Regions from separate parts of the Homo sapiens genome. Here regions 2 and 3 are each linked to region 1. Evidence: promoter capture Hi-C in 16 types of primary human blood cells and fetal thymus (Javierre and others, 2016). All regions are on one chromosome and are shown on one strand. Each heading gives the region's core, a stretch centred on a gene start or on the middle of the fragment in contact. The rest is flanking DNA. Distances are from core to core; before and after follow the strand shown.

Evidence for each region. The method cuts DNA at HindIII sites, captures the fragments that hold promoters and counts their contacts. A CHiCAGO score of 5 or more calls a contact.
Region 2: a contact is called between a fragment that was not itself captured here and the fragment with the promoter of TSHZ2 in region 1, in 1 of 17 cell types (total CD4 T cells). The highest score is 7.1, in total CD4 T cells.
Region 3: a fragment that was not itself captured here is called in contact with the fragment with the promoter of TSHZ2 in region 1 in 4 of 17 cell types (total CD4 T cells, activated CD4 T cells, non-activated CD4 T cells and 1 more); the score reaches 6.7 in total CD4 T cells.

Annotation. Positions count from the first base shown.
Region 1 is chr20:52,969,779-52,974,438 of GRCh38, reverse strand. It overlaps TSHZ2 (teashirt zinc finger homeobox 2), which reads right to left and starts at 2,081. Exons shown (of 3, transcript NM_173485.6): 1 at 1,106-2,081. The coding sequence starts at 1,145. The HindIII fragment of the contact is 5,636 bases long and covers 1,012-4,660 here.
Region 2 is chr20:52,244,524-52,249,183 of GRCh38, reverse strand. The region is part of intron 2 of LOC105372666 (a long non-coding RNA gene); the gene reads right to left. Among named protein-coding and RNA genes, the nearest start is that of ZFP64, 55 kb to the right of the region's middle. The HindIII fragment of the contact is 188 bases long and covers 1,734-1,921 here.
Region 3 is chr20:52,300,790-52,305,449 of GRCh38, reverse strand. It overlaps LOC105372666 (a long non-coding RNA gene), which reads right to left. Exons shown (of 17, transcript XR_007067652.1): 3 at 459-495. Among named protein-coding and RNA genes, the nearest start is that of ZFP64, 110 kb to the right of the region's middle. The HindIII fragment of the contact is 3,487 bases long and covers 358-3,844 here.

The DNA of each region.
Region 1 (4,660 bases), core at 832-3,331:
TTAAAAGCCAAACAAGATAATAATTGTGCATGTCTGGCTCTGAATATAGAGGGCAAGGTTTGCGTCACTGGCACTCTGAGTTACCATGGTGAGTGATTTATTGATATATATCAAGAATGAATAGATCAAAGGCAGCGAGATGACAGGTGATCAATCAAATGTCAAATCAAAACTAGCAATCAAGTGGAAAGCTGATTTTTCAGTGGGTGGGTCTGGCAGAAGAAAAATGAACTTTCATATTACATTTCCGAGAAACAAAACCCCAGCATACTATTAAAAAAGCAATTAAGCAACCCAAAAGAAAAAAAAACTTTAGAAGGTCTATTGTACTGATCCATTAACCTGTTCTTATCTTTTTTAGGGGGCAGTAAGGATTCAGATGGGATAGTTTTTACAGTACGAATCATTTCACAAAGTTTGCAACTCTCTAGGCAAAGAAAATCCAGAGCTGTTTAAATTTCTATGGGGAATTTCCCCCCTACAACCCTTTTTGGTTTTTTTAAAGAATAGGGAAATTGTTAATTACATTTCCAAATATGGATCCTTTTAGAAAATATATGCAAAGAGTCATCCATTTCCTGGGGGCATTTTGTCCACCTTGGTGATCAACGCTAAACTCCTATTGCTGGCCCCAAAGCCTGCCTGCAGCCCGAGTGTTAGGTATGCCTCACACTTCAGCGCCCCAAGCCCCAGTGAGAGGAGACGCTATCCCTGGAGGCCAAAAGCCACTGGCACTGACCACGCAGAGGGATGCAGGGGTGGAGGGGCTGTCTCCCTACTCCGCACCCCAAATCCTCAATCCGACTTTGGCCCGAGAGGCAAGAAACAGACTGGAAGAAAGTTAGGGGTGGGGTAGAGGGTGGAGGAAAGAAAGTTTAAGGAGGAAAGGCTTGGTGGGATAGCTCACCCCAACCCAACCGGAGCTTGGAAGGGGAGGATTTGGGAGACCAGAGAAGGCGAGAGAGGACGGGGTTATTAGAAGGGCACCCGGCGCAAACTCCCCCGAAAGCTTAAGTGGGTGGTGCCCCCGGGCACCCAGGGGCAAGGAGGGCGGGCGAGGAGCTCGGCGCACAGGGCAGCCCCGAAGCGGAGCCGTTTCTCTTACCTGCCGCCCGCTTGGGTGCCTGCTGTTTTCTCCTCGGCATCCTCTACTTCGCTCCAGTCCCACTTCTGGCGCCCCAGCCCCGAGCCGCGCGCTGGGGCCCGCTGTCTCTCTGGCCTCTCTGGGTCTCCTCCGCCTCTTGCCCGGTGGCTCCTAGGACGTCACTCGGCCTCTGTCCCCCTGACGATCCCCCCTGCAACTCCTCCACCACGGGCCAGAGACCCCCCTCTCTGGGTGGCAGACACGGGTGGCTTGTGCCGGCTGCTTTGAAGTAGAGGTTGGTTCTGCCTTGTTTGTTTGTTTGTTTATTTTGAATTTTTTTTCCTCTCTCTTTTTTGTTTTTGCTTTTGGAATTTTTTTGGTTTTGTTTTTGCGGTTTTTTTTTTTTTTGGTGACTGTTGAGACACTTGATTTCTTTATTAAACATCCAAGCCCGGGTTCGGATGGAAGGGACGAGGGGCGCACACGCGCCACAGGCACACTCGCGCGTAAAGATAAGGAAAAAAAAAAGGCAATCCTGGGAAGGTAGTGGGTTTCTTCTTTTTCTTCTTCTTCCTTCTCCTCTTTCCCTCCTCCTCCTCCTCCTCCACCTCCTCCTCCACCTCCTCCTTCTTTTCTTCCTCCTCCTCCTCCTCCTCCTCGCCGATCTCTATGGCGGATTCGTGCCGGGGGGAGAGCGATCACTCACTGTAGGTTTGTGGCTGCTGTCAGATCCCCGTCTGTGAGTGATATGCGAGAGGACAGGAGCGGGTTTTGGAAAGACAGAAAATCTGGAATTCACTCACTCACACACACACACAGACACACACACAGACACTCACACACGCACTCACACGCGCACGCACCCCCGCTTCCTCGCACACACACACTCACACCCCCCACATATGCACACACACACAAACACACACACACACCCTCGCACACACACACAAGACAGGGCGAGGCGATGCCAGCAAACATCGATCCCGCTGAACAAACTGAACATTAACAAACTCCTCCTCCTCCTCCTCTCCCCGCGACCTGATGACAGGGAGAAATTTACTCCCCAGCCGCAGAGCGCCAGGCAGCGGGAGCCTATTAAAGGGACAGCGTCCCGCAGGGGAGAGGGGCTGGGGGCGGGGGCCCCGGCGCGCCGGCCCAGGCCCCTCTGTGCGCCCTCTCCGCCGGGGCGAGGGCGTGCCCACCGGGCGCGGGGACACCCCTCCGGGAGGCGGAAGGGGCGGGGGCGGGAGGAAAGGAGGTGAGGAGGGAAGGGGTGCGGGAGAAAAGGAGGCAGTGTGATGATGGCTGAACTCTGAAGCTGGGAGGCTGTGGAGGGAGATTCAGGGGGGCCAGGTTGGCTGACCAGCAGGGACCATGCACAATCTTAGGAGAGGGAGAACTTAGGTTTGCTCGGGGCTGGGAAGGGGGAGGGGACCTTATCCAGTGAGGATCTCCATCCTGTAAGTCTTAACCTGCCCCCACCAAAATGTGCTCCCCACGACCCCTTCAATTTAGTGCCCCTGTCCCTCCCACTTTCTCGCTAATCAATGGGTGGTCACAAAAACAAAAATCTCCCTTCTGTCTACTTTAAGGTCTAATCATATACTCCTCTTTTTGTTTCCTTTGAAGAATGTTTATTGAGCATCTACTATGTGCCTATTCTGGAGACACAGAGGCCACAGAGAAAGGGAAGGTGGTGGCCATGTTGGTATTTATATTCTAATGGGGGAGTGCAGACAAGTGCCCCCCAGCTATCCAATCTTTGCTTAAATGTCCCCTTTTCCCAAAGGTCTACCTCACCTAAAATACACACACACACACACACACACACTCCCTGCCCCATTTCTCCATTTTGTTATTCCCCAGTGAGCTGATCAGTGAGTGTCACACAGGTTATAGACAGTTTTCTATTCTGTTGATTGTACAAGTTCCCCTCTTGAATGTAAGCTCCAATGGAAGGAAGGATTTTTGCCTCTTTGTTCTCTTATATCCCCAAGTGCTGGCAAAGCACAAGACATATAATAAGTGCCCAGTAAAATATTTGTTGAATGAATGAAAAGTAAGCAAGCAAATAAACAGGATACTTTGAGTGATTCGCTCCATGAAGACGTTAAGCTGAGTGCTGTAATAGTGTCTAAAAGGGGGTGGGTGGCTCTAGATTCAATGTAGGATATGGCATTTGAGCACAGAGAGATTGAAACAAACATGTGATTATTGAGTTCTGCTATCGGCCAGGCACCTTTTGAGGTGTTGGGGGCAAGTCTGTGAACAAGGTGAACCTAGACCATGCCCTCAAGGAGTGCTCCTTCCAGTGAGAGGGCAAAGCAACTGAGGGCATTTGATGCAGGCTGGGACTAGAGGTGTTTTTTTTTGCTTTATTATTTTTTTTATTTCAATAGCTTTAGGGGTAAAAGTGGTTTTCGGTTACATGGATGAATTGCATAGTGGTGAAGTCTGGGATTTCAGTGCACCCGTCACCCGAGTAGTGTACATCGTACCCAATAGGTAGTTTTTCAGTCCTCACCCCCTTCCCATACTCCTCGCTTCTGAGTTGCCAATGTCCATGATATCTTTCCATATGCCTTTGCATACCCATGCATTAGCTCCCACTTATAACCAAGAACGTGTGGTATTTGGTTTTTGATCCTGAGTTACTTCACCTAGAATAACGGCCTCCAGCTCTATCCAAGTTGCTGTGAAAGACATTATTTTGTTCTTTACTATGGCTGAGTAGTATTCCACGGTGTATATATATGTGTGTATATACACACAAACACACATATATATACACAAATACACATATATAGATATATATACCACATTTTCTTTATACAATAATCAGTTGATGGGCACTTATGTTGATTTCATATCTTTGCAATTGTGCTGCAATGAATATACGCCTGCAGGTGTCTTTTTGACATAATGACTTTTTTTCCTTTGGGTAGATACCCAGTAGTGGGGTTGCTGGATCAAATGGTAGATCTACTTTTAATTCCTTGAGAAATCTCCATACTGTTCTCCATAGAGATTGTACTAATTTACATTCACACCAGCAGTGGGTATAAAAGTTCCCTTTTCCCCACATCCACACCAATATCTGTTGTTTTTTGACTTTTTAATAATGGCCATTCTGGCTAGGGTAAGGTGCTATCTCACTGCAGTTTTAATTTGCATTTACCCTGTGATTATTGATGTTCAGCATTTTTTCATTATGTTTGTTGGCCATTTGTCTGTCTCCTTTTGAGAAATGTCTATTCACGTCATTTGTCCACTTTTTAATGAGATTATTTTTTTTTTTTTCTTGCTGATTTGTTTGAGTTCCTTGTAGATTCTGGATATTAGTCCTTTGTCAGATGCATAGTTTGCAAATATTTTCACCCATTCTGTAGGTTGTCTGTTTGCTCTGATGATTGTTTCTTTTACTGGGTAGAATTTTTTTAGTTTAATTAGGCTCCATTTATTTATTTATTTTTGTTGCATTTGCTTTTGAGGGCTTAGTCAGAAATTCTTTGCCTAAGCCAATGTCCAGAAGAGTTTTTCTTAGGTTTTCTTCTAGAATATTTATGGTGTCAGGTC
Region 2 (4,660 bases), core at 578-3,077, 730 kb after region 1:
GCTACATCCTCCGATAAAACTTTTATCCGTAATGAAGATGATGTTTTTATCACCATCTCTCTGACTTTTGCGGTTCTCTCTCAATTGATTCAAAACTTAAACAAGAAAGAAGAATATTACTTTATTAGGCCCCACTCAAGCCCCAATGTACACACATCCATTATTAACAGACTTTCATATGACAATATTTTGTGGACACATTTCCACAGTGATAAAGATTAGCTTACCTATTGGCCGGGCTAAATACGTGTATTAGTCTGCCTTCATGCTACTGATAAAGACATACCCAAGACTGGGCAATTTATAAAGAAAAAGAGGTTTAATAGACTCACTGTTACACATGGCTGGGAAGCCCTTACAATCATGGCAGAAGGCAAAAGGCACATCTTCCATGGTGACAGACAAGAGAGAATGAGAGCCATGTGAAAGGGGAAACTTCTTATAAAACCATCAGATCTCGTGAGACTTATCCACTACCACAGGAACAGTATGGGGGAACCACCTCCATGATTCAATTATCTCCCACCAGGTCCCTTCCACAACTCATGGGAATTATGGGAGCTACAATTCAAGATGGGATTTGGGTGGGGACAGCCAAAACATATCAATACCTAACTACATTGTGCATTAATACATACATCCTGCATGGTATAAGAATTTATTTGGTCAATCCCCTATTGATAGGCAGTTGAGTGCTTTCAGTTTTTCACTGAAATAAACAACAGTGCAATGAGAATCTTGGCACATACATCTTAATGTACTTATCCAATTATTTCCCTAGGTTAATTCCTACAAGTGAAATTGCTGGATCGAAGCACATGGACAAGAAGTATCTGTGGCACTTATTGCAGAAAGTTTGCATTGGTGGAACCTCGAGTGTCTGCTTTCCCACATCCTTACCAGCACTGAGAATTTTCTTTTTCATGTTTTCCACCTCTCTGAAATAAAATTAATACCTGATTTTGTTTGCAATTTCATTTTTACTGAGGCTGCATAATTTTTCATATACTTATTTTTCTATGAATTGCCTGAGGATATTAAATTTTGTTACCATAGCCAATGCCCATAGAGGCATTTGTTCAGTGTCAACTTACATCAAAAGTGCCTCTCCCAGCCTCTTCTCTCACCACTCTGCTCATGCACCCATCCTAAAGTCAAGAATCAGAGTTGTAAGCAACAGAAACCACCTCTGGCTACTTTGAGTGGAAATGGAATTTAATAAAGGATATTTTGTGATCAGACAATCCCCATGAGAAACAGAGAACCAGCTCAGCCAGGAAACAAATCCAAAAGCTCCTGAAGAACTACCTCATGAAACACCAAGGAGCCCCTCTAGACTCAGATCCGGGGGCTTGCACCACCTGCATCACCGTGTGGCTCTGAACACCACCACGAAAGCCCCTGGAGCTGCTGGATCCAGGACCTGGGTGGAGCTCCCACAGCACTCCCCAGCATGGGTCCCACATGGTGCCTGCTTCAGCTCACCAGCAAGAAGCTCAGGGTCTGGGGTGGGGTGTCTGGCTGTAGCTGCGCCCTAGCTGCAAGAGAGGCTGGGAAGGTGAGCCTCTGCCTGCTACAATGGATGACAAAGACATCTGGGACATTTTCCAAGCCTAGGAAAAATGCACACACACACACACAAAACAGAGGTTTGAACAACCAGAAGAAATAGCAAATGTACAATTCTTAAGGACCAGATCCATGTCTATGACACCTTTAGATGTTCAGAAGCTTCCATCTGTTCTATCCAAGTCAGGAAATCTGGAGTTCCTCCTCATCTACCCCTAATACATCAATTATCTCCCTTTTATAAATGCTGATTCCTCTCTCTAAAATGGTCTCTCTTCTGACTGTCAAAATGTTGGTCCAAACTACACTCCATTAAAAATTAAACTTAAAATATATTGTAGAATCTGAAGCTTCAAACTGTATCCCATGAGAAAAAAAACAACCTGTTTTCTGCTTCTTGCTACATTTCGAAGGAGACATTTGACTCATTCTTATGTGGAGGATGACTTTCCCCAGGATGGAAGACAAACATTCTCAAACAGACATGGTCCCTGTCCTCCTGGTACCTACAATACTAAAAAGGAAAAAAAAAAAAAAAAAAAAAAAAAGTTTGGAGCTTCCTGTAAGCGAAGCCCTGAAGGTTCCAGGAGGTTTGGGCACCTGGAAAGGGCATGGAAGCTGAGTGCCCCTTCCCACATTCCTTGCCCTATCCATCTCTTCATCTGGTGTTCATCGATATCCTTTGTAATGTCCTTAATAGTAAACCGGAAAACATGTACACCTAACAGCATGGTAAGGAAGCCCCAGAAGGATGTTTCTAAAGACCATGAGGGAGTCTGAAACCTGAAATCACGCCAAGGACTCTCTGCTTCCCTTTCACTTGGGGTGTCTACCTGATGCTGCCACAACCAATTGAAACATAACATTAATAACAAAATTAGTTTTTTTGTAACTTTAAAAAAAAGTGCTTAATGAATGAACAGGAACTTCTTCCTTAATCCAGAATTCTTCCAGCCATTCCTTTCCATTTTTTTCTGCACTGCAGCGATGGAGGCCTGTGATGAAAAATCACCTAATGGTGTTGATTGATAACTTGACAAGTGTAGACAGATATAAACATGTTTTGATACAGGCATTCAATTTGCTTGACTTTCTCTTTGCCGCACTGGATGGTGTCTCCCAGAAATGGTGATTGGGCATCTATGTGTCTCAAAGACCAAACTATCTCTGCCCTTGAAGAAGGAGGATCTACTTTTATAACATTAGCAATCAGAGCTCCATTTGAATGGGCAATCAGGCCCTTTCCAGAGAGCTCTGGGTGGTGTTGGGGAGGGCTTCTGTACCCATTCTTGTCAGCAGGATGGGACCCCCAGGAGGTATTTCCAAAGCTGGGATGTGTGGACCCTGTGTATTATAAAAATTTTATTTTTATAACTTTTTTTAATATTATAAAATATGCATTGGAAAAATCCAAATATTATAATATTTGTAATATTATAAAATATGCACTGGAAAAGAAATACACCACAAGAAGAGTAGTGGTTGTCTTGGTGAGGTTAAATTAATAAGATTTTTACATTGTTTTTATTTCTTTAATCTTCTACTATACCACTGCCCCCTCTCTCCCTTCATCTTCACTAGTGGAGGATCTGCCCAGCTTTCAAGACACATCTGCTCTCTCTCTTTCCTTCCTCCCCATTTATTTGTTCTCTCTCTCATTCTCCTCTCTCATTCTCTTCTCTTTCCTATTCATTTTCAAATCAATATCTCTTCCCCCTCCTCTCTCATTTACTTTGTCTCTCTCCCATCCATCCTCATTTTTCCTACCCAGCTTAGCAACTCACAAGACCTCTGGCCAGCTCCACTGTCTCTGGCTTGCATGGCCTGGGATTAGATTTAATTGTGTATTCATCTCATCTCTGCTGGTGCTGCTGCCCTCTTTGTGGGCACAGACTCTATTTAACTCATTTTTAATTTCAAGCCATGAGTAACATAGCAGCTTACACAGGTTAGGTACTCAACAAATGTTCACAGATTTGAATTCTCATGTTGTCTTTAACCAAGGAAGGTTTACCTTATCAGATTAATGGTCTCCAATGCCACTTCTAAGAAATTGAATCTGCTTGAACCTAGCAATATCCTTGAAACTAGGGCTTGAGGTTTTCCATGAAATCCACACGTGGCACCACGGAAGTTGTCCCACCTCCTCACAGGCATCAGGTGAGTCCTCATGAAAATTTCCGTAACTGTCTCCCAGGTCATAACTTTAGTAAGTTATTCCTGGTTTTAAGAAATGAGAAAGCTGGGCGCGGTGGCTCACGCCTGTAATCCCAGCACTTTGGGAAGCTGAGGTGGGCGGATCATCTGAGGTTGGAAGTTCGAGACCAGCCTGACCAACATGGAGAAACCCCATCTCTACTAAAAATACGAAATTAGCTGAGTGTGGTGGCGTGTGCCTGTAATCCCAGCTACTGGGGAGGCTGAGACAGGAGAATTGCTTGAACCCAGGAGGCAGAGGTTGCAGTGAGCCAAGATTGTGCCATGGCACTCTAGTCTGGGCAACAACAGCAAAGCTCCATCCCAAAAAAAAAAGAAAAAAAGGAAAGAAAGAAATGAGAAAATATGGTTCTGAGGATAGAAATGCTGACCAAAAATGTAAACCTGCCCTGTGATCAAGAGACTCCGCTAGAGATTCTACAGACACACCCACAGGTGTGTAAACATGGATGTCTCTTGCAGAGCTGTTAAAAATATCCAACAAGTGGGCCTGGCACAGTGGCTCACGCCTGTAATCCCAGCACTTTGGTAGGCCAAGGCGGGTGGATGGCTTGAGCTCAGGAGTTCAAGACCAGCCTGGCCAACATGGCGAATCCCTATCTCTACAAAAAATATAAAAATTAGATAGGCATGGTGGCACACACCTGTTGTCCCAGCTACATGGGAGACTGAGGCAAGAGAATCATTTGCTTCCTAGAGGTGGAGGCTGCAGTGACCTGAGATCGTGGCACTGCACTCCAGCCCGGGCAAGAGAGTAAGACTCTGTCTCAAAAAAAATATGTGTGTGTGTGTGTGTGTGTGTGTGTGTGTATGTGTATGTATATATGTGTGTATATATGTATATATATGTGTGTGTATATATATATATATATAT
Region 3 (4,660 bases), core at 852-3,351, 670 kb after region 1:
TGGGGCATTGGAGGAAAGGAAAATAGACCAGAATGGCTGGAGCAAGAAAGCCAAAGCAGAAGGCTACAGGAGAAAGTCAAGGCCACATCACACGGGACCTGGTATACCACGTTAAGGATTTTCAGTCTTATCCTTCTTCCATGGAAAGTTTTAACTAGGGTAGTGGATGATTCAGTTTGCACCACCAGCAGCAGAAGTTGTGAATTTACAGGCAGTAGATATGTGCACAACAGAATGCCTGACATTGCGTTAGATATTATGGATGTGTTCTTAATGAATCATTGTCCTTGCCCTAGGGATATTTTATGTAAGGAAAATACAATTACAGTTTGATAAGGGCTTCAGCAGAGTTAAGCTTAGGGGACCACAGAGCAAGTGCTTAAAAGGAGCCTCTACATTTTGCTTACATGCATGAAAGGAGGGGGTTCCTGTAAGAAACCTCTAGTATTTCTCCTTACCTGGGGGCAGAGAGTCATTCAACCCAACAGAAGTATTCTGTAGACAAAACAGATCATAATTATTAAGCCTCTGAAAACATGTGAGGTTGTACAAATAAACTGTTAATTTTTAAAAACCACAATACTAATTCTAATATATACCCAGGGATGGTAAATTTTCTCTGTGAAGGGCAAAACAGTAAATACTTTTCGATGTCACGAACCAAACAGTATCTATTGGAACTAATGAACTGCTGTTGTAGCATGATGTTTTCTATAGACGGCATGTGAGTGAATCGACACAGCCACGTTCCAATAAAACTTTATTTACAGCAGTAAGTGATGGGCCAAATTTGGCTCCTGGGCTGTAGTTTGCTGTTCTCTGATCTATTCTATATTATAATTATAAGCATATACGGGTGTGATCTTTATGAACATGGACGAATGGGAACAGAAGAATGGAAGCTCTCATCTCTTTGGGGATTGGGATTATCAGTTGGGTGGCTCTCTGCTATTTTTGTCTATTGATTTATTCTTCTGGGAATGCCACCCTGATTGGGTAGGAGGGAGTAGAGAACTACTTGTCCATCATCTTTAACTCACTGAGTCCAAGAAATTAACCCACCCTTAGATCCAAAGTAGGGCACATACCCGAGACCTGACCGCCCCCTGCCCCCACCACCCTGGTCATTCCACTGTCTTGGCCATGGTAATCTGTTCAGACAGGAGCATGAGCACAAGCAGACCAATATGAAACTCACTTCCTTGTTTTGCTTTGATTTTAATATTAAGAGAGAGAGAACCTCAGGCTGCTGAGTTTACTGAAATCAAAGCATAGGAGGCTAAAAGTTTCTCATGGCCATTTTGCACCCCCAGGCATTGGTCCTGCTGAAGAATGATGCCCACACATTGGGAAACAGATCTAAGAAATGAAGAAATGATTATTCTACTTGAGCATTGTTTGAGTCTCAGATGAAGTGATATCTAAAAGTAATTCTGTTCCTGGATTTTTCTGTGACTCAAGCTCGTGTGTTTTTTCTCCATCTGAGCTTGTTCCAATTCAGTTTTTGTCACTTTCAACCAAAAATTTTAAATGAGATCATTGTTATGGGTTTTTTTTTCTTATTTTAAAAAGTCTTTCAATATCTGTATAATATCACTTTAGCAACAAATAAAATTGAGAGAAGATGGATGAAAAGGTAACATATTTTATGTATTCATTTCTGAAGCAAAACTCATGTTCCATTTTGGCAGTGGGTGGCGGGGGGGCGTTCTTTGTCATTGGACTGACTGAGCCACTTGCAGTTCTGAAATTTGACTGAACAAATCTAAGTACTCTCTCCAAAAATGGACTGGGGGCCTATTTTGAAGCAAATATATAAAGACAGGGCTATAGCAGAGATCACAAATGATGACAATAGAAAATAATTCAGAAAAGACCATCTGACTCTGCAAAAATGCAGTGACATATGTAGGACAGCTGAGAGTCTCCAGGAGAGGATGAAAGCAACCGTGACCATCACGTGGCCACAACCTCCCTGAAAAACAGACTTCGGAAGGAAGCACAAATCTGACAGTGTTCCTGCCGTGCTTAAACCTCAGCCCCAATTCCCAGCTGCCTTCTTAAGCCCAGACTCCCATCGTGGCTATGATTGTCACAGAAGACAAACTTGAGTGTGCAAGAAATAAAATCTTTTAAAATTCTTCTGTAACTCCACTTAAACTGTTTTTATGTCAAGCCCTCCATCTACCTAATGGCAGAAAATTTAGTCACTTCCAGGTAAGTGCCATCATTCTGAGTTAAACACACAACCAATTTAGGATTCTGCACACACACACATACACACAGTCACAAACTCCTTCCTTCTTTTTTGGTAAGCGTCCAAGGACCAAGACATTTTGGAAAATAATCATGTTAGAAAGCAGAGTCTGGCCTGTCACTATACTTTGCTCTCTAGTAGCATCTGGTGGCATTTTCTGGTCTTGGGTGCTGTTGGTGTTTATCTCCCAGCATGTTCTGAGAAGCCCGTGTTACTCACTGTGTCTCTAGTTATCAAGTCTACCAAGGCCAACATGTGGCCTCCACATCAGGTCCCAGTGAGGCGTTCTACAGCCAACCACCCAACCACATTCCAGCCAGGGAGTAGCAAGTGGCCTCTCTACACAAAGAGGCCCCCAAACAGTTGCAAAGAACACTTCCACTTAAACCACTCTGGCCAGAAATTAGGCACATAGTCACACCCAGACACACAAAAAATGCTGGGGTTTGTCATGTTATTCTCATGTGCCTGGATAACCTTTGTGGGTCCAATTACTAAGAAAGAAGGGTTATATTAGCAGAAAACTTGCACTTTCTATCCAGATATTTCATATGTACCTCAAAATTGTCCAAGGCATAAATGTTACTGGAAAGGGGTCCCTATCCAGACCCCAAGAGAGGGTTCTTGGATCTCATGCAAGAAAGAATTCAAGGTGAATCCATACAGTAAAGTGAAAGCAAGTTTATTAAGAAAGTCAAGGAATAAAGATATGGCTATGCCATTGGCAAAGCAGCCCTGAGGGCTGCTGGTTGCCCAGTTTTATGGTTATTTCTTGATGATATGCTAAACAAGGGGTGGATTATTCATGCCTCCCCTTTTTAGACCATACAGGGTAACTTCCTGATGTTGGCATGGCATTTGTAAACTATCGTGGCGCTGGTGGGAGTGTAGCAGTGACGAGGACCAGAGGTCATTCTCATCGCCATCTTGGTTTTGGTGGGTTTTGGCCAGCTTCTTTGCTGTAAACTGTTTTATCAGCAAGGTCTTTATGACCTGTATCTTGTGCCAACCTCCTATCTTATCCTGTGACTTAGAATGTCTAACCTTCAGGGAATGCAGCCCAGTAGGGCTCAGTATTATTTTACCCAGCCCCGATTCAAAATGAAGACGCTCTGGTTTAAATGCCTCTGACATAAAGATAATCATAGAGATGCAATAAGTCAGAATACTGAAAACAAAGAACAAAAGAACAAGGGCAGATGACAAAATTAAAAGAACAAAGGTAACACTTACAATTTAAAAGTAAAGGTTTTACGATTCTCCATGGCCAAACGTTGAAACAGAAAAGAGAAAATAAAGAGTCAATAGCTGGGGAGTGAGAGAGGTGGATCCCAGCCAACAGTAGAGTAAAATTGAGGCCACCTCAAAATGTGAACAGACTCTTCAGTCACTTTCTTGATCTTTAATGGAAATAAACTGAGTGTGAAGCAGAGAAGGTGAGAAAAACACGGCTTATAAATGGAAATACACCAAACAAAGTGGAAACTTCGTATCAAGCCCACAGACAAGTCTCTGAACAAAGGGAAACTCTTTAGGGTCAAAAAATAAAAACAACTAGAAAAATGTGACCAAAGGGAAAGGTAAGCTTTGGGAAGAAACTAACAACAGTGCTCCCACCTAAAGCGGACACAAAGACTAGTAAAACTTGAGTGTTTGGTTTAGCAAAATAGAAAATCAGGTTTTATCCTGGAGTTTGATGCCTTGCACATTCATCCATCCTCTGGTTTTATACAGTTCTAATTCTCAGAAAGAGAGAGAAGAACCTGCCTGCCTTAAACTACACGCAAATTAAGGTGAGACTTTGGCTCCATTTTTTATTATATATAGCTATCATCTGCTCTAGAATGAGCTGGATTTCTTCCACTGAGTTCATATCTCCTTCTGTCTTTTTAAAAATGCATTTTAAAGCTTCATGTTTCTTTCTGGAAAATCTACCATAATGTAACAACAGATTTTAAAGCTTAAATGTATATTAATCATGATGCCAACAACCACAATCTAATATAGTCCTTACCTTTTACTGACAATGTGAATTTTAATTAAGTGTATAATGCATAATTAAGACCCGAAGTGCAGAATATATTTTTGGTCCTGTTTACTGTGTGTAAGAAACTCTAACATGGAATGAAGTTAGCCTCCCTCCTGCAAAAGACTCAAAATTTTACAAATTAAATGAATGGTGGCTACAATTGGGTTTTCAAAGACATTTTGACTACTCATTCAAGATGGTTGACAGAAATTGGAAACAAGCTTTATGTTCATCTGTAGAGTAGGGGAATGATTAAATAAATGATGGTACATCTACGCTACAGAAAATAACAAAGTAGCATTATAGGAACAGATATGGAAAAATCTCCAAGGTACATTATGTACATCATTTATATAGCATGACTTCATTTAACT